7 separate regions of the Homo sapiens genome follow, and regions 2, 3, 4, 5, 6 and 7 are each linked to region 1. The links are contacts of gene promoters, found by promoter capture Hi-C in blood cells and fetal thymus (Javierre and others, 2016). All regions are on one chromosome and are shown on one strand. Each heading gives the region's core, a stretch centred on a gene start or on the middle of the fragment in contact. The rest is flanking DNA. Distances are from core to core; before and after follow the strand shown.

What was found. The method cuts DNA at HindIII sites, captures the fragments that hold promoters and counts their contacts. A CHiCAGO score of 5 or more calls a contact.
Region 2: a contact is called between a fragment that was not itself captured here and the fragment with the promoter of SNHG4 in region 1, in 7 of 17 cell types (erythroblasts, endothelial precursors, megakaryocytes and 4 more). The highest score is 10.4, in erythroblasts.
Region 3: a fragment that was not itself captured here is called in contact with the fragment with the promoter of SNHG4 in region 1 in 3 of 17 cell types (megakaryocytes, M0 macrophages and erythroblasts); the score reaches 7.2 in megakaryocytes.
Region 4: a contact is called between a fragment that was not itself captured here and the fragment with the promoter of SNHG4 in region 1, in 4 of 17 cell types (endothelial precursors, M0 macrophages, M2 macrophages and 1 more). The highest score is 8.9, in endothelial precursors.
Region 5: a fragment that was not itself captured here is called in contact with the fragment with the promoter of SNHG4 in region 1 in 3 of 17 cell types (endothelial precursors, activated CD4 T cells and M0 macrophages); the score reaches 12.2 in endothelial precursors.
Region 6: a contact is called between a fragment that was not itself captured here and the fragment with the promoter of SNHG4 in region 1, in 1 of 17 cell types (M1 macrophages). The highest score is 5.4, in M1 macrophages.
Region 7: a contact is called between a fragment that was not itself captured here and the fragment with the promoter of SNHG4 in region 1, in 1 of 17 cell types (erythroblasts). The highest score is 5.2, in erythroblasts.

What each region holds. Positions count from the first base shown.
Region 1 is chr5:139,272,494-139,275,678 of GRCh38, forward strand. It overlaps SNHG4 (small nucleolar RNA host gene 4), which reads left to right and starts at 1,608. Exons shown (of 7, transcript NR_182757.1): 1 at 1,608-1,668; 2 at 1,871-2,121. It overlaps LOC124901081 (a long non-coding RNA gene), which reads right to left. Exons shown (of 4, transcript XR_007058956.1): 4 at 574-1,161. It also overlaps a transcript of MATR3 not described here. RefSeq lists an enhancer at 962-1,311 and a silencer at 1,602-1,681. The HindIII fragment of the contact is 4,492 bases long and covers 1-3,185 here.
Region 2 is chr5:138,588,888-138,592,072 of GRCh38, forward strand. No RefSeq gene overlaps it. Among named protein-coding and RNA genes, the nearest start is that of HSPA9, 15 kb to the left of the region's middle. The HindIII fragment of the contact is 3,000 bases long and covers 69-3,068 here.
Region 3 is chr5:138,605,258-138,608,442 of GRCh38, forward strand. No RefSeq gene overlaps it. Among named protein-coding and RNA genes, the nearest start is that of HSPA9, 31 kb to the left of the region's middle. The HindIII fragment of the contact is 989 bases long and covers 936-1,924 here.
Region 4 is chr5:138,625,553-138,628,737 of GRCh38, forward strand. No RefSeq gene overlaps it. Among named protein-coding and RNA genes, the nearest start is that of HSPA9, 52 kb to the left of the region's middle. The HindIII fragment of the contact is 4,392 bases long and covers 1-3,185 here.
Region 5 is chr5:138,642,808-138,645,992 of GRCh38, forward strand. No RefSeq gene overlaps it. Among named protein-coding and RNA genes, the nearest start is that of HSPA9, 69 kb to the left of the region's middle. The HindIII fragment of the contact is 3,641 bases long and covers 1-3,185 here.
Region 6 is chr5:138,658,841-138,662,025 of GRCh38, forward strand. No RefSeq gene overlaps it. Among named protein-coding and RNA genes, the nearest start is that of HSPA9, 85 kb to the left of the region's middle. The HindIII fragment of the contact is 6,224 bases long and covers 1-3,185 here.
Region 7 is chr5:138,715,796-138,718,980 of GRCh38, forward strand. No RefSeq gene overlaps it. Among named protein-coding and RNA genes, the nearest start is that of CTNNA1, 36 kb to the right of the region's middle. The HindIII fragment of the contact is 4,843 bases long and covers 1-3,185 here.

The DNA.
Region 1 (3,185 bases), core at 358-2,857:
GTCATCACCAGATTATTGGTCCCTCTCTCCCCAAAGGTCTGCATAGCTCCCTGTCCTCAGTTACTTCTTGTCTCTTCTCTGAAAGCACACATGCACATTCACACACACACATACACACACACACACACACACACACACACACCCTATCTTTCCTTTTCATGAATCTTCAGGGTAGCTCTGCCCTCTCCACTTTGTGTGTTTGGAAGGAAAGAAAGCGAAATATATGAGATGCCAATGCAATTTCTCCTTTAGCAGAGCTCGGTAGGACAATTACCCACCCAATCTGCCTGGTTTTATAGCTCTCATAACCTTCCTTTATGAACACGCTGTGACAGCCGGATGTGGGCATTGATTATGGCAGCAGTCTTCAGCCACATTCCTATTTAACTGCAAAGCAGAGCTCCTGCCTACCAGCCCAGCACTGGTCATGTGACTTTTTAAATTACTGTATTTATGTAAGCCTTTTCCCAACCAGAGCCTATGTCCAACTGCATCAAAACTGGGGAGGATTTGAGCTTGCCACTTCCCCTCCAGTGGCTCTTTGGCCCTACAGCCTAGGGTCTCTTGCTGGAATCAAACTGGGGCTCTGGGCTTTCTTAGGAGAGGTCTGCAAGAGTTGGGGTGCACAAGAAGCATACCTTTTTCATTATGAAAGAGCTGAGGAAATAGACAATGAAACATGTTGGCAGATGCCAAGGGCAGTGGCTTGGTTCCCAGGGGTTCACCTGGCAATGGTGCCAGGTGCAAGAGATCAGCAAAACTTACAGGATTGGTTGTTGTTGTTGGGGGGCGGGTGTCGGAAAGGAATTTGGGGGAATTAGAGAATGGAGTTGGGAATCACTGCTTGTAGGCCTTCCACTCTGGACCCCAGCAGAATCATATGGACTCTAGCCACTGGGAGAGGGAAGTTTTAGTGTTCCAAAGAAATCCTGGTAGCCTTGCAGGCAGTCTGTCCTGACCAAGGACTCTGCCTGACTGTGCCATGGTGCAGGGCAAGTCTAGCAGAGAAAGCCAGTGTTCTTCAGTTACTGCAGCTCGGCGAAGAATCCCACTGCAGGGCACTAGGGAGGCCGGTCCTGCAGAGGTCAGCAGTAGGAGTGACTGGCTTAATCTATTCGAAAACCTCCTGGAAAGATCCCGAAGACCGTGGACCAAGGTGACCTGCGTGGGTGAGCGATCCATTAGCCGAATGACAGCGCTGCCGCAGAAAGCCAGAAAAAGGATATGCGTGGGAAGCGCAAAAGCGTGGGCTGGGCCTGCAGCAACGGAAAGGCGCCACGCTCGTGAGCGGAACCAGCGTTCCGGGGGCGCTCAGTGTGGGCAGGCAGGAAGCCTGGCTCCACTAGGACACACAGATTCTCTCCTGAGCAGCTGCGAACTATGCGCCCCTTCTACCCTTAAGAGATGGGATGGGAGTCCAACAAACCCAGCCATTGCTCAGACCCCAGCCCTTCTCTCCTCTAAGAAGCAGGTTCACCTCTGCCACCGCACTCGCATTTTTTTTTTTTTTTAAAGCCCGGCCTTTCCTAGGCGGGGTCAAGGGCCCCGCCCACCGAAGCCACGCCCAGTAGCCGCCCCGGGGCGGGGTTCCCCTCGGCTCCCGGCTGCCCTTTCCCCTCCGGCCTCTGCCGGTGCTGCTGCGCCCTGCGGAGCTCCGAACACGTGCGCGTGAGTAAGGACCCAGAGGGGAGAGTCCTTGGAGGTTTCCCAGCCTGGGGAAAGAAGCAGTGCAGGGTGGCTTCTGCCGGGGCACGGGACGAAATTGGGGTTCGTCCCCTCGTGATCCCGAGCTTGGAGGGCATCTGAAAGAGACTTGGGCCTCGGAGTCGTCCCCTGTTTTTCTACCATCCCTCTTCCCTCTTCTCCCTAGGGAGTCCCATAGAGCCTGACTCCGAGAGCCTCGATCTCCCAGGGCCAGAGGCAGGGACTTTGGAAGGTTTGTGAGGAACAAATGTCCGGTGGAACTGAGTCAGCCCCTTTAACCCGAGCCTTGAAAGGGGCAGGCTATTTTTAGATCTGTTTTTAGACCCAGCGAACAATGAACCCTCTCTACTCATTTTCCTGTTCCTCTAAATTATTTGGAGGAAGTCAGGAGTGAAATTTGGGGATGGCTGGAAAAAGGTATGATCTTAGCCTTACATAAATTATAATGGTGACTGTGAGGCCGGGCGCGTGGCTCACGCCTGTAATCTCAGCACTTTGGGAGGCCGAGGCGGGCGGATGACGAGGTCAAGAGAAGAAGACCATCCTGGCCAACATGGTGAAACCCCGTCTCTACTAAAAATACAAAACTTAGCTGGGCGTGGTGTCGCACGCCTGAAGTCGGGAGGCTGAGGCAGGAGAATCGCTTGAACCCGGGAGGCAGAGATTGCAGTGAGCCGAGATAGCACCACTGCATTCCAACCTGGTAACAGAGCAAGACTCCGTCTAAAAAAAAATGGTGACTGTGTAGGAATATTTATTATCATTTGTGCAAACATTTTGGTTATTTTTATTTTTTTTAACGGAGTCTTGCTCTGTTGCCCAGGCTGGAGTGCAGTAGGGCGATCTCGGCTCACTGCAACCTCCGCCTCCTGGGTTCATGCCATTCTCCTGCCTCAGCATCCCGAGTAACAGGGACTACAGGTGCCCGCCACCACGCCCGGCTAATTTTTTTTTTTTTTTTTTTTTTTTTTTTGTATTTTTAGTAGAGACGGGGTTTCACCGTGTTAGCCAGTATGGTCTCGATCTCCTGAACTCGTGATCCGCCAGCCTCAGCCTCCCAAAGTGCTGGGATTACAGGCGTGAGCCACCGCGCCCGGCCTAACATTTTCGTTATTGCTTTTAATCAGTAGTTGAGGTCTTGGCACGACTACTGCCTCCAATTCCCCTCACATCCAATACTGCAGTTATTTTTCCAAGTGCTGTTTTTATTGTCCTTCAGGAAGTATTGGAGGCCCTCCTCTATCCAGTGTTCCCACTGTTCACTGCCCGTTTCTCTCACTGGATAACTTTTCCCTTTTTACTCACTCATATTCACCATCTAAGCCTTTTTTGGAATGTAGCTCCTCAGGTGTTTACTGAGTGCCCACACTATACCAGACATTATCCTGAGGATTAGCTTATATTTCACTTAAGCCTCCCAACCACCCTATTTACAGAGGACTATTAGTAATATCCCCATTCAGCTTGGTGTGCTCGCTCAC
Region 2 (3,185 bases), core at 319-2,818, 680 kb before region 1:
ACTCCAATTACATGCTCTGATCCCATCTGACTGTTGGGAAAGTTAATCTAGCTTATTTCTTGTCTTCAAGCTTGCGTTATGGTTCCAAGATCTTATATTTTGGATGAGATTGGAGGGAGCTTTGAGTTGTCCCATCATTTGTACCATCACTTGAGGCCCAGGTACTGACAGCCTGCTCTTCATCCTTGCCTCATCCTCTGGCCTGGGGTCCTATCTCCTAGATATACCATGAGGCCAGGCCTCTCTAGGGTCTTGCTCCCTTCTTAGGTGCTGTCATGCCAGGGATCAAGGCCTGGGTTCCCTTGTTCCAGGACCTACAAACATTCTCATTCCTGACCCCAAAGCATCTCTTTCTAGTCTGCTTGAAGTACCTTCCTGCATCATGCTGCTCTGAGGCCAATTTCCTTAAGTTCTAGGCTCTGTCTTGTTCTTCTACAGTGGTCTTTGATGGTCTTTTTATTTTTTACTTTTATTTTTATTTATTTTTGAGAGACAGTGTCTCACTCTATCACCCAGGCTGGAGTGCGGTAGCATGATCACAGTTCACTGCAGCCTTAACCTCCTGGGCTCAGGTGATCCCCCTGCCTCAGCCTGCCAAGTAGTTAGGATTACAGGCATGTACTACAATGGTTGGCTAATTAAAAAAACTTTTTGTAGGCTGGGTGCGGTGGTTCACACCTGTAATCCCAGCACTTTGGGAGGCGGAGGCAGGCAGATCACTTGAGGCCAGGAGTTTGAGACCAGCCTGGCCAACATGGCGAAACCCCGTCTCTACTAAAAATACAAAAAAAAAAAAAAAAAAAAAAAGCTGGATGTGACAGCGCCATGCCTGTAGTGCCAGCTACTTGGGAGGCTGAGGCAGGGGAATCGCTTGAACCTGGGAGGCGGAGGCTGCAGTGAGCAGAGATTGCACCACTACACTCCAGCCTTGGCGACAGAGTGAGGCCCTGTCTCAGAAAATTCTTTTTTTTTTTTTTTTTTGTAGAGACAGGGACTCACTCTGTCTGTCACCCAGGCTGGTCTCCAACTCCTGGGCTCAAGTGATCCTCCTGCCTTGGCCTGCCAAAGTGCTGGGATTATAGGTGTGGGCCACTGCACCTGGCCTTTTGATGGCCTTTTAAATCCCAAACCCATGTCACTGCAGCCATGTATTGGTTATGGTTTACCTTTTGGTGCATGTTTCTACTTTCCTCATTTAGATTTGTGAACCTTCTCGGGGCAGAGACTACCACTTTCTTGTATCCTGAGTCACCACAGGGCTTTTCATAGTGTGGGGGGCACTTATTAAATATTGATTAATTATGATAATGACGAGGACACAGGACTGTTTGTGAGCACACACAGCCCTGCCACACAGTGAGAATCAGGAAGATGAAGGGAAGAAGGGGCCAGGTTCATTATTGTCATATAATCATGAATATTTCACTGGTTTGTATCACCAAGGAGTAGCCTGTTTGTCCTGCTGCCAGCACAGGAGGAAGCATTTGCCCTGATAATGATGAACAAATTTCCTTGATCGAGTCCATGGGCCAGAGCTCCTCTGGGTGCTGGTCAGGCTGGCTTTGCCCTTCTTTGGCTTCTTCACAGGCTGTCTTGCCCGGCTCTCAACAATAGATTTCTCTGTCACGAATACAAACTAGCCAGGCCCTCTTGAACAAATCAACCTCCCCGACACCTGCTCAGAGCAATTAGCCTTCCAATGTGCTATGGTTAATAAACACGAATGGTTGTTATCTGCTTTTCCTTGGCTGGTCCTATGAGTGTCCTCACACAAATAGGCAGTTTGACCAGAGACCAGCTCCAACTCATACTTGGGTCAGAGAAATGGAACCCGGAACCCTCCTGCCTCAGCCTTCGGGGCTTCATGGATACTCCCTTACCTCAGCCTGCTGTGACCTCATGCCAGCCCCTCTCTGGCCTCCATTTGGATTCATCTGGTGATAAAAAATGAGCAGAGGAGATACCAGTATCATCTGGGTGGTGGGACTAGATGACCTTTAAATCCTGTGACTGCCCATCCTGCAAGTCTTTGATTCTATACTTTCCACTTGCTTGGTTTTTTTTGGAGACGGAGTCTCACTCTGTGGCCCATGCTGGAGTGCAGTGGTGCGATCTTGGCTTGCTGCAACCTCTGCTTCCCGGGTTCAAGCAATTCTCCTGTCTCAGCCTCCAGAGTAGCTGGGACTACAGGAGCTGGCCACCACGCCCATCTAATTTTTGTATTTTTAGTAGAGACAGGGTTTCGCCATGTTGGCCAGGCTGGTCTCGAATTCCTGACCTCAGGTGTTCTGCCCACCTCAGCCTCCCAAAGTGCTGAGATTACAGGCATGAGCCACTGCTCCTGGCCCACTTGCTTGTTCTTAATCAACATTTAAAATCCCCCAAAGGCCGGGAGCGGTGGCTCATGCCTGTAATCCCAGCACTTCAGGAGGCTGAGGAGGGCAGATCACCTGAGGTCAGGAGTTCGAGCCTGGCCAACATGGTAAAACCCCATCTCTACTAAAAATACAAAAATTAGCCGGGCGCGGTGGCACTCGCCTGTAATCTCAGCTACGTGGGAGGCTGAGGTAGGAGAATCGCTTAAACCTGGGAGGCGGAGGTTGCAGTGAGCCGAGATGGTGCCATTGCACTCCAGCCTGGGTGACAAGAGTGAAACTCTGTCTCAAAAAAAAAAAAACAAAAAAAAACCCAGAGTTGGGTGTGGTGGTGCACACCTGTAGTGCTGAGAAGAGGATCACTGGAGCCCAGGAGTTCAAGGCTGTAGTGTGCAATGATGGTGTGCCTGTGAATAGCCACCACACTCCAGCCTGGGTGACATAGTGAGATCCATTCTCTTAAAAAAGAAAAAAATCTCCCAGCTTCCTGCTGGTCCCTTCAACCTCCTTATATCGGCAACCCTTCCTTGATAGATTCACTGCAGCAACACGGGCCTTCTTTCGGGTCCTTGAAGTGTTGCTTCTGCACTTCCATAGGCCCTCACTTCTCCCTAGATCACTTTCTCCCCACCAGCCAGTTGTCTAACCCTATTTAGCCTTCAGGTCCCAACATAAATGTCACTTGTATAGGCAAGCTTCTCCAGCCCCCAGAATAGATTAGATTCCTAAGGCCTAGGCCAGTCCTGCATATTATCTTCCACAGCACTGTCTACACCTATAATACTTTTTTTTGTTTTTTGAGATGGAGTC
Region 3 (3,185 bases), core at 180-2,679, 670 kb before region 1:
TAATCTACAATGGACTACAGGACTGCTGGTTTGGGAAATGCTCTCCTAGACTTACCCTCCACCCCACACCACTCAGCACCAGGGCAGCTAGGACTTCTGCAGAGCACCAAGTGTTTGGTGGCCAGTCAGCTCAGATGGCAACCACAGGCTGGTAATTAACCAGGGTCAGGCAGCAGCTGCCGTCCCCGGGCTGATGAAGAAGCCATCCAATAGAGTTGGGTGGTTTATTTCTTGCTTTCATTTCCCTCTGTCACTGCTCTTGTCTAGACCCTTTACAGATCAAGTCTGCACTGTCACAACAGTTTCCTGACAAGTGTCCCTGCCAGCTGGTTCTTCCCTCCAGTCCACCCTACACACCTGGCCAGATCTGTCTTCCTAACATGAGGCTTGGAGCTTGCCACTCTCCTGTCCCAAATGCATCAATTCAGCTTTCAGGACTGTCTTGGTTCCTTTTTCCCCCTGCACACCCTATACTGTGGATGCAGCTGAATCATTTCAGGCCCCTCTGTGCTCTGCACATTCTGCTTCCTCTGGCCAGTGCTTGAAGAGCTCCTTCCTGCCTCAGGAAGGGAGGGAGTTTCTTTCCCAACATTATCTAAGCAAAGAACTCCTTTTTATTTTTTGCAACATTCCCACTAATCTACAATGGACTACAGGACTGCTGGTTTGGGAAATGCTCTCCTGTCACAGTCCTGTGTTCTCACTCAGTCACTTACCTATTCAATAAGCATTTATTTTGTGCCTATGTGCCAGGTCCTGGGCTAGAATAATACACACTCCTTAACCTAAAGAAACTAATAAAAACAGATACATCTACAATGGAGTGATGTGTATTATGATAGAGTGATACTCAGGGTTTCGCAGGCAGGGACACTATCTCTGCCTAGGTCACAAAAGGCAAGTCAGGGCAGGCTTCCTGGAGAAGGGGATGTTGAAGCTTAAAGGACGAAATGGTGTTAGGCATTTGAAGGCATATGGTATGCCAGGAACTGTCCAAAGATGTGTTGGGTACCTGGATCTTTGCAATAGGCTAAGCAGGCAGGTTCTCCCCAACCTCTCTGTCCTCAGGGAGAATCTCAGGCTAATTCTGCTGACCTGCAGAAGCCAGGTGAGGGGACAACACTTGTTGTCATCAGGAGGTGGGGTCTAGGGGCTGAAAGGTGGAAAGGGGGACAATGCCTCACATGCTCCCTGCATCCTGTGGTTCAGGGACCAATCCTCCTCCTCCCCAACTCCCAAGTCTCCTCTAAGAGATACAGACATTCAAGCAGTTTGGTTGCCAGGGGCAACCCTAGAAGGCAGCTTTATTCCAAAGGCAGGCACTGAAGCCCCTACCCGGGGGCCTCATAGCCTGGCTCTGATAGACAAGGGGTAGGTGGTTCAATTCGGCCAGTCCCCTTTGGGAGGTGACAGGACAGAGTCTGAGTAGCGCATGTGGAAGATAACCCTTCCAGCCACTCAGCAGGGCCCTGAGAAAAGAAAGGTGACCCACAAAACAGTAGATGGCATTTTAATCCACACGAATACTTAATATGAGTAACATAACCTTGTTTTTTCTGAGACGCAGCCTAATTTATTTCAGGCCTCAGGCTTAGTAACTAACCGCTGACAACCTGCAGGTCTGGTGCATGTGTGTGTAGGTCTGCAGTGTTAATGAGACTGTAGAGGTGGTGAATTTCTCTTGTTCACAATTTTCCTGCTCTGTTGAGGCTGTCCACCAGTAAGTTGCTCCTTTTCCTGAGCTAGGACTTGTGATCTGGGAATATGAAGACTACCTAGAAGGCAGAGGGTACAGGCTCCTCTTGAGAGAGCATGCCTGGTGCAAATGACAGGCAGTTGGGTTTACCAACGCTCCCTGCTTCTTTCTCTCATTCCTGTTATTCTGCCTGCTTACATTGCCCTCTGCTCTCCCCACAATGAGAGAAGCTTGTGCTATGTGGAGTCAGAACACCTGGGTTTGTTTCTGCTCTGTGACTTGGATGATGTATTTAATCATCTTGAGCCTCAGTGTTTTTACCTGTGAAATGGAAACAGTAGCACCTGCCATACCCAATCACAGGGTTATTGCAAATATCAAATGAGATAATTGATGAGAAAGTGTTTTGTAAACCAAGTAATGAGGAGGAGGAGGAGGAGAAAGTTGTTGAGTGGTTACTGTGCTAATTGCTCTTCTCTTTATTTATGTTATCTCTTTCTTTTCTCTTCTTTTCTCCTTTTTTTTTTTTTTTTTTTTTTTTTGAGACAGAGCCTCACTCTGTCTCCTGGAGTGCAGTGGCATGATCTCGGCTCACTGCAGCCTCCACCTCCCAGGTTCCAGCAATTCTTCTGCTTCAACCTCCCAAGTAGCTGGGATTACAGGTGTGTGCCACCACACCCGGCCTATTTTTGTATTTTTAGTAGAGACGGGGTTTCACCATGTTAGCCAGGCTGGTCTCGAACCCTTGACCTCAGGTGATCCACCCGCCTTAGCTTCCCAAAGTGCTGGGATTACAGGAGTGAGCCACCATGCCCGGCTGAGCCTTATTTATGTATTTAAGACAGAGTCTTGCTCTGTCTCCCAGGCTGGAGTACAGTAGCACCATCTCAGCTCACTGCAACCCCTGCCTCCTGGGTTCAAGTGATTCTCATGCCTTAGCCTCCCGGGTAGCTGGGATTATAGGCATGCGCCACCACACCTGGCTAATTTTTTAATTTTTAGTAGAGACAGCGTTTCACCATGTTGGCCAGGCTGGTCTCAAACTCCTGATCTCGTGATCCGCCTGCGTCAGCCTCCCAAAGTGGTAGGATTACAGGCGTGAGCCACCATGCCTGGCCTATACAGCCTTTAAGAGCAGAATCTTCCTGCTTTCTAATTTCTTCCAGTTTATGTCAAATCACTGTCCTCTGGCCCAGCGTGTCCCAAACACATGAGCCTCCTTTATCATTTCAGGGCCTGCCATGGCAGGTCTAGTTTAGGGCCTTTGCGCTAGTTGTTCCCACAGCCTGGAAGCTGCTGCTCTGAGATCTTTGCCTGGCTGGCAACTTCTTATTCAAATTTTATCCTAAATCACAAATCTTTCCCGATCTCCCAATTTAAAATAGCTTCCTTGGGGGCAAAAACATAGACTGTACACATGTACTTGCTTTTGTATGAATACATTTCTCTGCAAGGATGCACAAGAAATTAACATTTTGTTGCTTATGGG
Region 4 (3,185 bases), core at 206-2,705, 650 kb before region 1:
GTAGCTGGGATTACAGGCATGAGCCACCACACCCGGCTGATATTGTATTTTTAGTAGAAACAGGGTTTCTCCATATTGGTCAGGCTGTTCTCGAACTCCCAACCTCAGGTGATCTGCCTGCCTTGGCCTCTCAAAGTGCTGGGATTACAGGCATGAGACACTGCGCCCAGCAGAATATTTTTTAAAAAGTACCCAAGGATTGAGATTTAGTAGAAATTAATAATCTTTACCATTTGATGAAGAACATTCCTAAGTAAACGTGAAATTTTTTTAGTGCATGTGCATGGCAGTGAAGTGTACTATGAATACTAGCACAGGTTAGCACAACTGCTTCGATTTGTTTTGAGGTGCAGTCTGTTTTACCCACCATTGCTTTTGCACCATCAGTGCAAATGTCAACACAATGAAAAAGGCAAATCGTATCTTACACTATTATGAAAATAGTTTTAGCAGGGCACACTGGGTCACGCCTGTAAATCCCAGCACTTTGGGAGGCCGAGGTGGGAGGATGATGACTTGAGCCTGGGAGTTTAAGAACAGCCTGGGCAACATGGCAAAACTTATCTCTACAAAAAATACAAAAATTAGTTGGGTATGGTGGTGCACACCTGTGGTTCCAGGTACTCAGGAGACTGAGGTAGGAGGATCACTTGAGCCTGGGGAGGCAGAGGTTGCAGTGAGCCAAGATCGCACCACTGCACTCCAGTCTGGGCAGCAGGAGGGAAAGCCTGTCAGAAAAAAACAAAAAACAAAAACAGAAAAGGAAAGAAAATAGTTTTAACTTCACAGACCCTTGAGAGGGTCTTGGGGGCCCCCTCAGGGTTGCATGGAGCACACTTTCAGATCCACTGCCCTAAATGACGTGTCTGAGTTCCTGAGAGTTGGTCCTAGGCCTCTTTTCTTCTCACTCTACTCTCTCCTTAAGTGAGCTCATCTACTGCCTTTGAACTACCTCTGAGAAAATGACCCACACATTTGTCATCTCCAGCCGTGACCTCTCCCTGGAGCTCCAGACTGTGTATCCAGCTGCCGGCTCAATTTTGGCAGTTGGGTGTCCCAAAGGCAATATGTCTAAGACTTTACTTCTGGTCTTCCATCCATTTATATAAGCCCAAATCCTTATTGTCACCATGTTCCTCCTCACCCCGTATCTAATCAATCATTAAGTCCTGTAAATGCTGTTATTTCCTCTTCCTTTCTCTCTCTTTCTCTCTCTCTCTTCCTTCCTCTTTTGCTTCCTTCCTTCCTTTCTTTTCTTTCTTTCTTTCCTTTTTTCTTTCCTCCCTTCCTTCTCTCTCTTTCTCTCTTTCTTTCTTTTGAGACAGAGTCTCACTCTGTCACTCAGGCACAATCTTGGCTCACTGCAATGTCCCGGGTTCAAGGGATTCTTCTGTCTTAGCCTCCTGAGTAGCTGGAATTACAGGTGTGCACCACCATGCCCAGCTAATTTTTGTATTTTTAGTAGAGACGGGGTTTCACCATGTTGGCCAGGCTGGTCTCGAACTCCTGACCTCAAGTGATCTGCCCACCCCAGCCTCCCAAAGTGCTAGGATTACAGGCGTGAGCCACTGCACCCGGCCAATGCTGTTATTTCCTTAATATCTCTTTAATCCATAACTTCTGTCTCTACCACCATCACCACTACCAAAGCAAGATACCATTACCTCTTGCTGCATTACCACAACAGGCCTCCTTCAATCTGTTCTCCTCATTATAACCAGAGCAATCTTTTCAAAATGCAAATCTGATTATGCCAAAACCTTGTTTAAACCCTTCAACAACCTCCTATTGCTCTCAAAATAAAGGTCCAAATCTTTAACATGGTCTGTTTCCCCAGTCTAGGTCAGATTCTTAAAGTTCTCATAGAATCATGCCCCCTTCTTTCATAATAGTCATCGTCGTTTGTATTTGTATATTCATTAGTAGGATTATTTGATTATTATCTCTCTCTGATGAGACTATAAGTTCTGTGAAAGCAGAGACAACCACATAGTAGACATTTTATAAATATTTGCTGAGTCAATGATTCAATGAGGCCTAGGACAACTCCTTTGAGCATGGAGTAACCACTGAGAAATAATTCTTCTGCCCTCGGCCCTCGAGTTGGAGAAGACCTATTTTCATTCTTATCGTCTCATAGCATTTCAAAGAAAAATGCTGCTTTGTCCAGGCATTCCATCATAGTGTCTTCCTAAGCATGAGGCACATTTATCTTCCTTTTGACATAGGCGCCCTCTTTGCTCCCCATCACTCATCCTGCCAGTGGTTCTTGAAGTGGGTTAGCAATACTGGTTCTTCAGGATTATAAGAGAGGGGACTGGGGCTGGGCGTGGTGGCTCACGCCTTAATCCTAGCACTTTGGGAGGATCATGCTGGAGAATCGCTTGAACCCGGGAGGCAGAGGTTGCAGTGAGCCAAGATCGTGCCATTGCACTCCAGCCTGGGTGACAGAGGGAGAATCTGTCTCAAAAAAAAAGAGAGAGAGAGAAAGAGAGAGGGGACTCTTTCTCTCCTACTAGGTGGTTGGCTAGGAGGCCCATTTCTGCAATAGAGAACAAAATGTATTAAGAGAGAACAAAGGAAGAACAAAGGGAACAAGAGAGAACAAAATAAGGCCTTTCCTATAGAAGGGAAGGGAAGGGAAACCAATGTTTATCAAGCAACTACTGTGTGCCAGGCACTTTGAGACTTTTGTTGTCCCCTTTCATCTTTTTTTGGAGTTCCAGTGGGCTTTTAATCTTTACAACAACCCTATGAGGTAGGAGTTATGGTCCCATTTGTATAGATGAGAAAACAACGGGCCCAGAGAGGTTAAGTAACTTGCCTAAAGATACACAATATAGTGTATTAGTCCTGTTTACCTACCTACCCTAAGACCCCTTCTAAGGGACTTTGTACTGGCAAAGATTTTGCAGCAGGCCATATTACATACCATATGACATCATCCCTACCCCAGTAGTTTATATCACTACTTACCTACCCCTGCCTCTTCTGCCCTAGGTGATTAGACCACAGGGAGGTTCTAACCTTAGCCATGTTGGTCCATGGGCTAGCCAGTCACCTCTGACTTATTGCCTGGTACAGAAAGACAACTGGCCAATAGGATTCCCTCTTAGTAACCTCAACCTGAAGCAGAGTTCCCCAGCAGGGAGCACAGACTGGGAGAGATGCAGACACACCCAGTG
Region 5 (3,185 bases), core at 280-2,779, 630 kb before region 1:
CAGGACCAGACAGAGACTTGGAGGAAACACTTTTATGACTTGTCCAGAGACTCCCTGGGCTGGAAGGAATCTGGCCTCTGCCTCTGGGAGATCAGCAAGTGGGGCAAGTCTTTGTCTGGGGCCACGGCCAAGGCTGGCTGGGTCCTAGGCTGGGGACAGTGTAACCCCTGACCATTTGCCAGCCCCCAGTAGCTCACCCTGGTCTGACTGTCTTGGCAGAGCTGAATGTCCCAATTTTCTTCAGAACTTTTTCCCAGGTTAATCTGTGTTGCTATTGCCCATGACCTGCTCACCACCTTCTTCATCATGAAAAAAAAAATGGCTTTCTCTCTTTCTCCCAGATCTCACAGTCCTCTGTGACTCTTCCTGGCCCCATCAGATGGGGATGGGCTGAGCCTAGAGTACTGAGCTGGTCGGCAGGGTGCAGCACATTCCTTACCTGGAGCTGACACTGTTAGGACTTTCTTCCCAGTTGTCTTCTTCGGGCTTCCTCCTCCCCACCCTGTCACCCCAAAGCCTCCCACACTTGGGAGTTTCTCCTTCCAGTAACAGGGCCTGCATGAGCACTGGCTTAGGGGGATGGGGTGGGGGGTACGATGCCTGTATCAGGTTACACAGCCCCAAAAGAAAAGGCTGGCTTTTTGGCTTCTAGCACCTCCAAATTCTCTCTGTCCAAAGGATGAGGAGCAGTCCTGGGTGTGGTGGCTGGTGTGGAGGATGGGACCTCTGGGCTGCCAACAAAGGCATTGCCAGCAGAGCTGAGGGCACAGGCCAAGTCTGGAGTCTGTGGACTTGTACTTGGGACATGCCCAAGTCATCCCTATGTCTACACCCTTCCATCTGACCAAGTCATCTGTTCCCCCAGAGCAAACTTGCCAACCCAAGACCACATGTGGCCCAGGACAGCTTTGAATGCAGCCCGATGCAAATTCATAAATTTTCTTAAAACATGATTTTTTTGCGATTTTTTTTTTTCTCACAGCTATCAGTGTTAGTGGGTTTTTTTGTTTTTTGGGGCGGGGTGGGGATGAAGTCTTGTTCTATTGCTCAGGCTAGAGTGCAGTGGCATGATCTTGGCTCACTGCAACCTCCCCGCCTCCCAGTTCAAGTGATCCTCGTCTCTCAACCTCCCGAGTAGCTGGGATTACAGGCTCGTGCCACCATGTCGGCTAATTTTTGTATTTTTGTAGAGACAGGGTTTCGCCATGTTGGCCAGGCTGGCCTTGAACATCTGACCTCAGGTGATCCACCTGCCTCAGCCTCCCAAAATGTTGGGATTACAGGCATGAGCCACTGCTCCTGGCCCATGTTAGTGTATTTTATGTGTGGCCCAACACAGTTCTTCTTCCAATGTAGCCCAGGGAAACCAAAAGATTAGACACCCCTGCCCTAGAGCCTGGCTCTGTAGAAACTCTCAGGACTTCAGGGGTCTACCTCATCCCACAGGGCCACAGGGTTGCCTTGGGGGTGGTGTGGGGTTGCCCTACCCTTTTAAAATGCCCTAAGGGTCCTGACAGCTACGGGTGGATACCCAGCCTCAGCTCCAGCCCAGCCCTACTGAGGCATTAACTCTGGAGCTCTCTAGGGCAGTAGGGGGTAGGGAAGAGGCCTTCTCTGATTGAAAATCTGAAGAGAAGAAAATTGCGTGGGCCTGTAGCCTTTTCTTTGCGTCTCTCAGCTCTTTCACCAAGGACGTTTTCCCTGAGGTTTCCTCTAAATTCTCCCAGCTGCAGATCACGGCACACACTGCAGACCCCTGAGACACCCACCTGTGAAACCAGTGTGGGAATGGACCAGTGAGGTGCACATCTGTGGGAAGGGCCAAGGATGAGGAAACTGTATCTGTTCAAAGCCCATCGCAAATCAGCTTCTTCATCCCTCTCAAAGGTCAAAAGCATGACAGGGCCCAGAGGAGTGTTGGTATTTTCAGAGGAGAAGGCAGTGAGGATTTGGGAGCAGTCCACCCTCCTCAGCCACATCTCAGATCTCCTTGCTGAAATAAGGCCTCAGCTGGACCAACAGAAGACAGGGAACTTAGGCACCTGGAAGAGGTGCAGACCTTATCCATCCTCCTGTGTGTCCCCCCACCCCAAGCCTGATACCAGGCCCTCTGTATAGGGGCAAAACTTTTTCCATTCTAAACGAACATTTACTCCTTTTCTCCAGGACACTGGGCATTAGCTGGACATCGGCCTGTTCAGGGGACCTCAGGCTTGAGACAGAAATGAGGAAGCACAGAGATCAAAGCCTCCTTCCCAGACAGGAGTGACTTTGAAGTTCACTGGCATTGCAATTAGGAATGACTTCCGCAGAGGGCAGGGATGGAGGAAAAAAAAAAGGAAAAAGGAATGGCTTCCCTGACTACAGCTCCAGAAACCTCGTTTTCATAGCCCCTACTACTTAGGGAACTGGGAGTTTGGGCCAGTTTGGTGGTGGCTCCCCAGTAGGTAATCTGAAGGCCTGGGGTGGGGGTAAGGAGGGGAGTATAGGGATCACTCCTATTAATTGACACTTCCCATGGCTAAGGTGCTGTTCAAGGCATTTTACGTGTTTTGTCTCATGAAATCTGCAAACTACTCATTGAATTAGGTCTAATCATGATTTCTATCTTACAGACAAGTAAACAGAGGCACACGCAATGATAATAAAAATCAGAATAGTAATAATAATGATAACATTTTAACAGCTTTTTAAAAAAATTTTTTAATTAAAAAGAGATGAGGTCTCACTATGTTGCCCAGGCTGATCTCAAACTCCAGGCCTCAAGCGATCCTCCCACCTTGGCCTCCCAATATGCTGGGATTATAGGTCTGAGCCACCATGCCCAGCCTTTAACAGCTTTTTTTTTCTTTTTTATTTAATTTATTATTATTTTTTAAATCAGGCAGGCTCCCAAGCCAGAGTAGGCTCAGAGAGACTCCCAAACCGCTTTAAAAAAAAAAAAAAATTGACACAGTGCCAGTCTTGGTGCAAGCACATGATGTATATGGTACTATTAAATCCTAAGAATTCATCATATTATCCCGATTTTCAGCTAAAGAAACAATCTGAGCAAGAAGTGACTTCACCAAGGTCATGGAGTCTTAGAAAATGACCAAGCCAGGAGCCAAACACTCTTCTCTCCAATTCCAACCAATCAGCAGCCTGTGCTGCTGATTCCTTGGCAAGATTGCCTCCCAAGGGGA
Region 6 (3,185 bases), core at 299-2,798, 610 kb before region 1:
GAGCTTTGTAAGTGCAGGGTGTTATTAAGTTTGTGATTAGGCCAGGTCAGCGAGGGCTGCAGGAATAATGGGAGGATTAATGCCCAGGACGTGGCAAGGAGGAGGCTAAACTCTGCCCCATCCTCCTCCCTCGGTCACCTGCCCTGAGAAAAAGCATTTGGTGTTTCCAAATTGACTGAAATAAGAAATGTGTGGTGGCAGCAGCCTTCTCTCACTCAGCCTTCATTTGCCCAAGGCAGAGAGATTTTAATTTTCGAGCCATAATGAGAAAAAGAAACTCAGGATTAAAGAATATTCCAGTGAAGCAGTCAAAATAGCTGCCCAGACTCTGAATCAAGCCGAGAAATATAAATTAAAAACTCCATCTCCCTCTAGCATCAGCTGGGCTTGAAGATGCCAGGCTGAGTGGCTGGCAAGGGTTCTTGCAACCCAGGTCCTGGGGTCAGCTGGCGGGCAGGCCCCACCCCAGGGTGCTGATGGGACAGGGAACCAGAGACGCACCCACCCACTCACAGGAGAGATTTACCTCCACCAAGGCTGGCTCCCCCAAGCTACAAGCCTCCTGAGTCAGGTCAGGCCCTGAATGTTGAGCTCAGGAAGTGGGGGGTGACTCCCTGGCCCCCACTGTTTAGTCTCCTAAGGCACAGAGATGCTGCTGTCTGCTCTTGTTTGCTCTTCTCCCAAATGCTGGCTCACATGCTGCAAACCTCTTTTTGTTTCCCCGAACTCAGGCCAGTGGTCCTGGGAGTGGGAAGGAGCTGCCTGAGAAGGGGGGCACCTGAGCCTTCAGCCCGGATTCTTCTGAGCTTCAGTCTGTTCCCAAGGGAATGCCCTTCCAAATGCACTTGCACTCAGGATGGTGGGAATGACAAGGAGCCCTGAGAAAGGTGTGTGAGCCCCAGGGCCAGGCCATACCGTTCCCTGCCCACTTGAAGCCTCACATCCCATGGCTCCCCAAAACTGAACATCTCTTGCCCCACCCAGCCCTACTATCTTCTTGATTGCCTTTGACCATCTCCTTTCTCCTTCTCCTTTTCTCATCTACTTATCCAAGAAATATTGACTGTGTGGCCTACTGTGTGCCAGGATCTGTGCAGGGTTTAGTGGCTACAGAAATAAACCAAACCCAATTCCTGTTGACAGGCAGAAAAGAAAGACAGGTGGCCTGAGGATTATAATATAGCACAGAACACACTGGGCAGTGGAGTTGGGTGGGTGACCAAAAACTCTGGAGTCAGACTGATCTGGTTCAAGAACTGTCTCCATCTCCTACTTCTTACAGTAAGACCTCAGGCAAATTGTCTAGCCTTGATAAGATGCAGTTTATTCATCTGTAAATTGGGGATGATAATGCTTTATAGGATTGCTGTGAAGATGAAATGACATAATCTTGGTAAACTAGTTGGAACAGTGGCCAGCATATGGCAAACACTCGTTAAAGGCCAGTTGGTATTATTGTAAGTGTCTTAATGACAACACTGACATTCATTACTCTGTATTGGGTGCTCACTCTGAGCCAGCCAGGGTGCCATGCCTACAGCAGTGACTCAACTGTGGTCCTTGTCCTGAAGAGTTCACAATCTATTAGAGGTGACAGATATGTAAACGGATGACTGAAAAAGTGCAATCACTGCCATTATCACTCGAAAAACCGTCATTTTTTGAGCCCTGATCATGTGCCAAGTACAATGCAAAGTTTTAAAGATACATTACCTTTAACTCCTTGCTAACCCTGTGAGGGATCTATCATCTCCATTTTACAGAGGTCCCATAATCATTAGTAACTTGTTCAAGATCAGGCCATTTGCAGAATGAAGTATTGACTCAAAGGAGAGCAATTAGCTAGACCTGAAAAGGGATCAGATCTGAGAAGGCTTCAAAGAAGAGGTGATCCTGTTTTTTTACAGACAGGGTCTTGCTCTGTCACCCAGGCTGGAGTGCAATGGCAAGATCATGGCTCACTGCAGCCTCAGACTCCTGGGCTCAAGTGATTCTCCCAAGTAGCCGAGACTATAGGCATGTGCCACTGTGCCTGACTAATATTTAAATTTTTGTAGAGAGAGTGTCTCACTTTGTTGCCCAGGCTGGTCTGGAACTCCTGGGCTCAAGCAATTCTCCCGCTTCTGCCTCCCGAAGTGCTGGGATTACAGGCAGGAACCACCACATCTGGCCAAACCGGTGATCTTTGATCAGGATTTTGAAGAATGAGTAGTTTTCCAGAAGCCAAGACTGGGGAGGAATGGCATAGCACCACACTTCTGTGGGCCTGCGGGAGCACTGGAGCTTCAAGCAGCATCCACAGGAGTTCCCAGGCCTAGAGGTCCTTATGTCCCTAACAGCCATTCGGTCGTGTGCCTCAACACCACATTATAGCCTAAATCAAAGGAGGGTGATTATTTTAGACAGATTCTAGTCAACAGCTTGAACCCGGAGGATTTCAGCTGAATCATGGAGCTGAAATAACTGCATGGAGTTGAAGTCCCTCATCCCCCCTGTCCAGGTGCCCAGCAAGTCAGGGGGTGTGGGTTGGGCTCCCTAGGAAGCTGGGAGGCCACAGACTGGGCTGGAGTCAGGGAGACAGTCTCAGTGACCTTGGGAACACTCCACCAGATTTGGGGCAGAAAAAAATGAAATCTGTTCCTGCATTTCAGTCCTTTCGCTTCCGCTTTCTGCCTGTTCACTCCCCTCATTTCCTGCCCACAGTCACAGGGGAGGCGGCCATCTTGGCGCAGTGGCAGGTCTGGAGGCTGGAGCCAGGATGTGGCGCTGGAATCCATCTATCTGGCTGGTTCCACACCCAGGGAAACCTGGACTCATCATCATTAGCATTCTGTTTCCTTGCCCCGAGCAAGGAGGCGCAGGGCAACAGCATAGAGGGGGCACGCCTAGAGCAAAGCAGCCCTCAGAGCTCAGAGCCCGAGTCTCAGGGCCACCCATCCTCAGCCAGCGCAGGGAGGCACTTCCGCGAGGCGCTTCCGGCGTAGTGCAGGGTTGGAGGAAGACCTTGGGGGTAACTCTAGGACCATAACGTGGTGAGGCTTTGGTGCTTGCGACGGACAGATTGCAGATGGCTCTCCAAACACCTGTCCGTATAATGTGGTTTTGCAGGAAAGGGGATGGATAAGGTCCCTCCCTGAGGCGGACCTACCCTCCACCCGCTCCTTGAAGCAGCTCCAGCAGCCTCA
Region 7 (3,185 bases), core at 253-2,752, 560 kb before region 1:
ACAAAATGGGAGCTCACAGGTTTTCAATGAGAACTAAATAATATATTAAAATATCATCGGCAGCGCCTGACATATAGTAAGAGCTCAGTAAATGCTAATTTGCTTCCCTATGGAATTGAACAAAGCTGCTCCTAGTGGCTTTGGTCCAGAACCTTCTTCGATATGCTGCCCAATGTCTCCTCTGGTTTTGACCTGGATTCTCCACTGTTTGCTCAGATTCCTTCATGGCTTTTTCTCCCTTGCATTAATTCTAAGCACCTGCTTGTTATTAAAGTAAAATCCTCTCTTTGCCTAGTCCCTGTGATCTGAAAAAGCATCTGTAAATAGAAGGTATGCCCCCTATGACACAGCACTATTGGCATTTTGCTCTTTTTTTTTTTTTTTTTTTTGTGACGGAGTTTCACTCTTGTTGCCCAGGCTGGAGTACAATGGCGCAATCTCAGCTCACCGCAGCCTCCACCTCCCAGGTTCCAGCGATTTTCCTGCCTCAGTTTACCAAGTAGCTGGGAATACAGGTGCCCACCACCACGTCTGGCTAATTTTTTGTATTTTTTTTAGTAGAGACAGGGTTTCCCCACGTTGGGCAGCCTGGTCTCAAACTCCTGACCTCAGGTGATCCGCCAGCCTCAGCCTCCCAAGGTGCTGGGATTACAGGCGTGAGCTACCACCCCCTGCCTGGCATTTTGCTCTTCAAGGGTTAATAATGGTCAGGGCTGTACCTTTAGAAAACTCAGCCAGCAGGGCTCACCAGAAATAATTGCAATAGCAGGGACGCAGGGAGGTGGGGCTGAGAGGATGTGGGGTGGGTATTGAAGAAGGCCTGCAGAGCAGGACAGTGAGCCTCTGTAGGGAGAATGGTATATTCCAGGGGGAAAAAATGACGGGCCATTGGAAACCCCTGGCCATGAGAGGTAGCAGCGGTTTGGCTTCAACCTGGCCCCTTTCCAAGACCACATTCTTATTGCTGATCCCTTGCTGGTCAGCAAGAGCCCCTGAGAGGACTTGCTGTGATAATTTGGTGCCAGATCATGCTTCAGTTGCAATTTATTTAAAGTTGACAATAGGGTTCCTGTCTTTTACAAGCAGATTCCCTGCCCTTGAATGTCTGCAGGCTGGATTTTTTGCCTTGATGAAAAGGTAGTTAAATTTCACACTTATTATAGCACCTGGCACCTGACATCTTCCAGAGACTTTATAAAGACTAATGAAATGAAACCCTCAGCGCTATTGTAAACAGGGAAGAAGAGAGAGCAGACTCATATCCTCTCTCTGCAGGAAACAAAGAACTAAACCTGCCTCATCTCCACCCCACCAGTGGACCCATTTTTTTTAGGCTAATCTTCAAAGGGCTACTGACTGGTTATCAGACAGGTCATGGCTCAGAGCATCTTTGGAGAGCAGGATCTGCCTGAAAAATGGGTCAATAAGGCACCAGCATACAGGTCTGCGCTGCTGGAGATGAGGCCTCCAGACCCAGAGATTCTGTTCCAGCTTTTTTCACTCAGCATCAGACATCAACCAGTCAGGGAAGCTGGACCGATCTTTGCCAATGTCCCCAGGAATTGAAGTGTGTGAGCGTGTCTGCCCTGTGATGAGAAGGTGAGTGCAGAATTTGGGGTATGGTTTAAATGAGGAAAAGTACAACAGTATGATTCCCTCCCCCAACCCAGTTAGTCCCTTCACCCCATCCTTTATTGTGTCTGTAGTGGGAAAGATGGAGTTTACAGTCAAACAGACCTGCGTGCAAATTGTCCTGTCACTTGCCTTAAAACTTAATTTCTCCAAGTCTCAGTTTCCACATCTGTACAATGGGAATAATAATACTGCTATGATTACCTATGGTTGTGCAACAATCTCAAACTTAGTGGCATTAGGGGAAAAAAAAAAATGGGCTGGGTGCAGTGGCTCACGCCCATAATCTCCACACCTTGGGAGGCCAAGGCGGGAGGATTGCTTGAGGCCAGGAGTTCAAGACCAGCCTGGGCAATATGGGGAGACCCTGTCTCTACAAAAAATAAAAAAATTTAAAAAATTTATCGTGCTCACAGATTCTATGGGTCAGTAATTTGGACGCGGTACAATGGCAATTCCTGAAGCCCCTGGTTCATGATGTCTGGGGCTTTAGCTGGCATACCTGAGAGGGTGGGTGTCTTTAATGGCTGGAATTAACTGGAGGCTTTTTCATTTGCATGTCTGGTGCTTGGGCTAGGATGACTTGAAACTGGGCTCAACTGGGACTGCCAACCAAAGCATTTCTATATGGCCTCTGCACACAGCTGGGGCTTCCTCAAAGCATGGTAACCTTTGGGACTTCTTACATGGTGACTTCAGGTTCCAAGAGTGAGTGTCACAGCCAACAAGGCAGGAACTTCATGGCCTTTTATACCCTGGCCTTGGGAGTCACATGTCATCATTTCCACCATCCTCTATAGGCAAAGATGTCACCAACCTGTACAGATTCAAGGAAAGAGGACATAGAATTGGCCCCCACTTCTTGATGAGAGAAGGGTCAAAAAATTTGAAGCCATGTTTTATTTTTATGTATTTATTTATTTTTGAGACAGCTCTGTCACCAAGGCTGGAGTGTAGTGGCGTGATCTCGGCTCACTGCAACCTCCGCCTCCTGGGTTCAAGTGATTCTCCTGCTTCAACCTCCTGAGTAGCTGGGATTACAGGTGCCTACCACCATGCCCAGCTAATTTTTCGTATTTTTAGTAGAGATGGGGTTTCACCATGTTGGCCAGGCTGGTCTCGAACTCCTGACATCAAGTGATCTGCCCACCTTGGACTCCCAAAGTGCTGGGATTACAGGCGTGAGCCACCATGCCTGGCCTGAAGCCATATTTTAAAACTACCACCAGGCCAGGAGCATTTGGCTCCTATATTATAATGCCTATAATCTCAGCACTTTGGGAGGCTGAGGTGGGCAGACTGCTTGAGCCTGGGAGTTTAAGACCAGGCTGGGCAACATGGCAAAACCCCATCTCTACAAAAAAAAAACAAGAAGTTAGCCAATCGTGACAGCTCGCACCTGTGGTCCCAGCTATTTGGGAGGCTGAAATGGGAGGATCATTTAAGCCCAGGAGGCCAAAGCTGCAGTGATCCATGATTGTGCCATTGCACTCCAGCCTGGGCAACAGACTGAGATCCTGTCTCAAAAAAACAAAAAATAAAAAAAAGGCTGA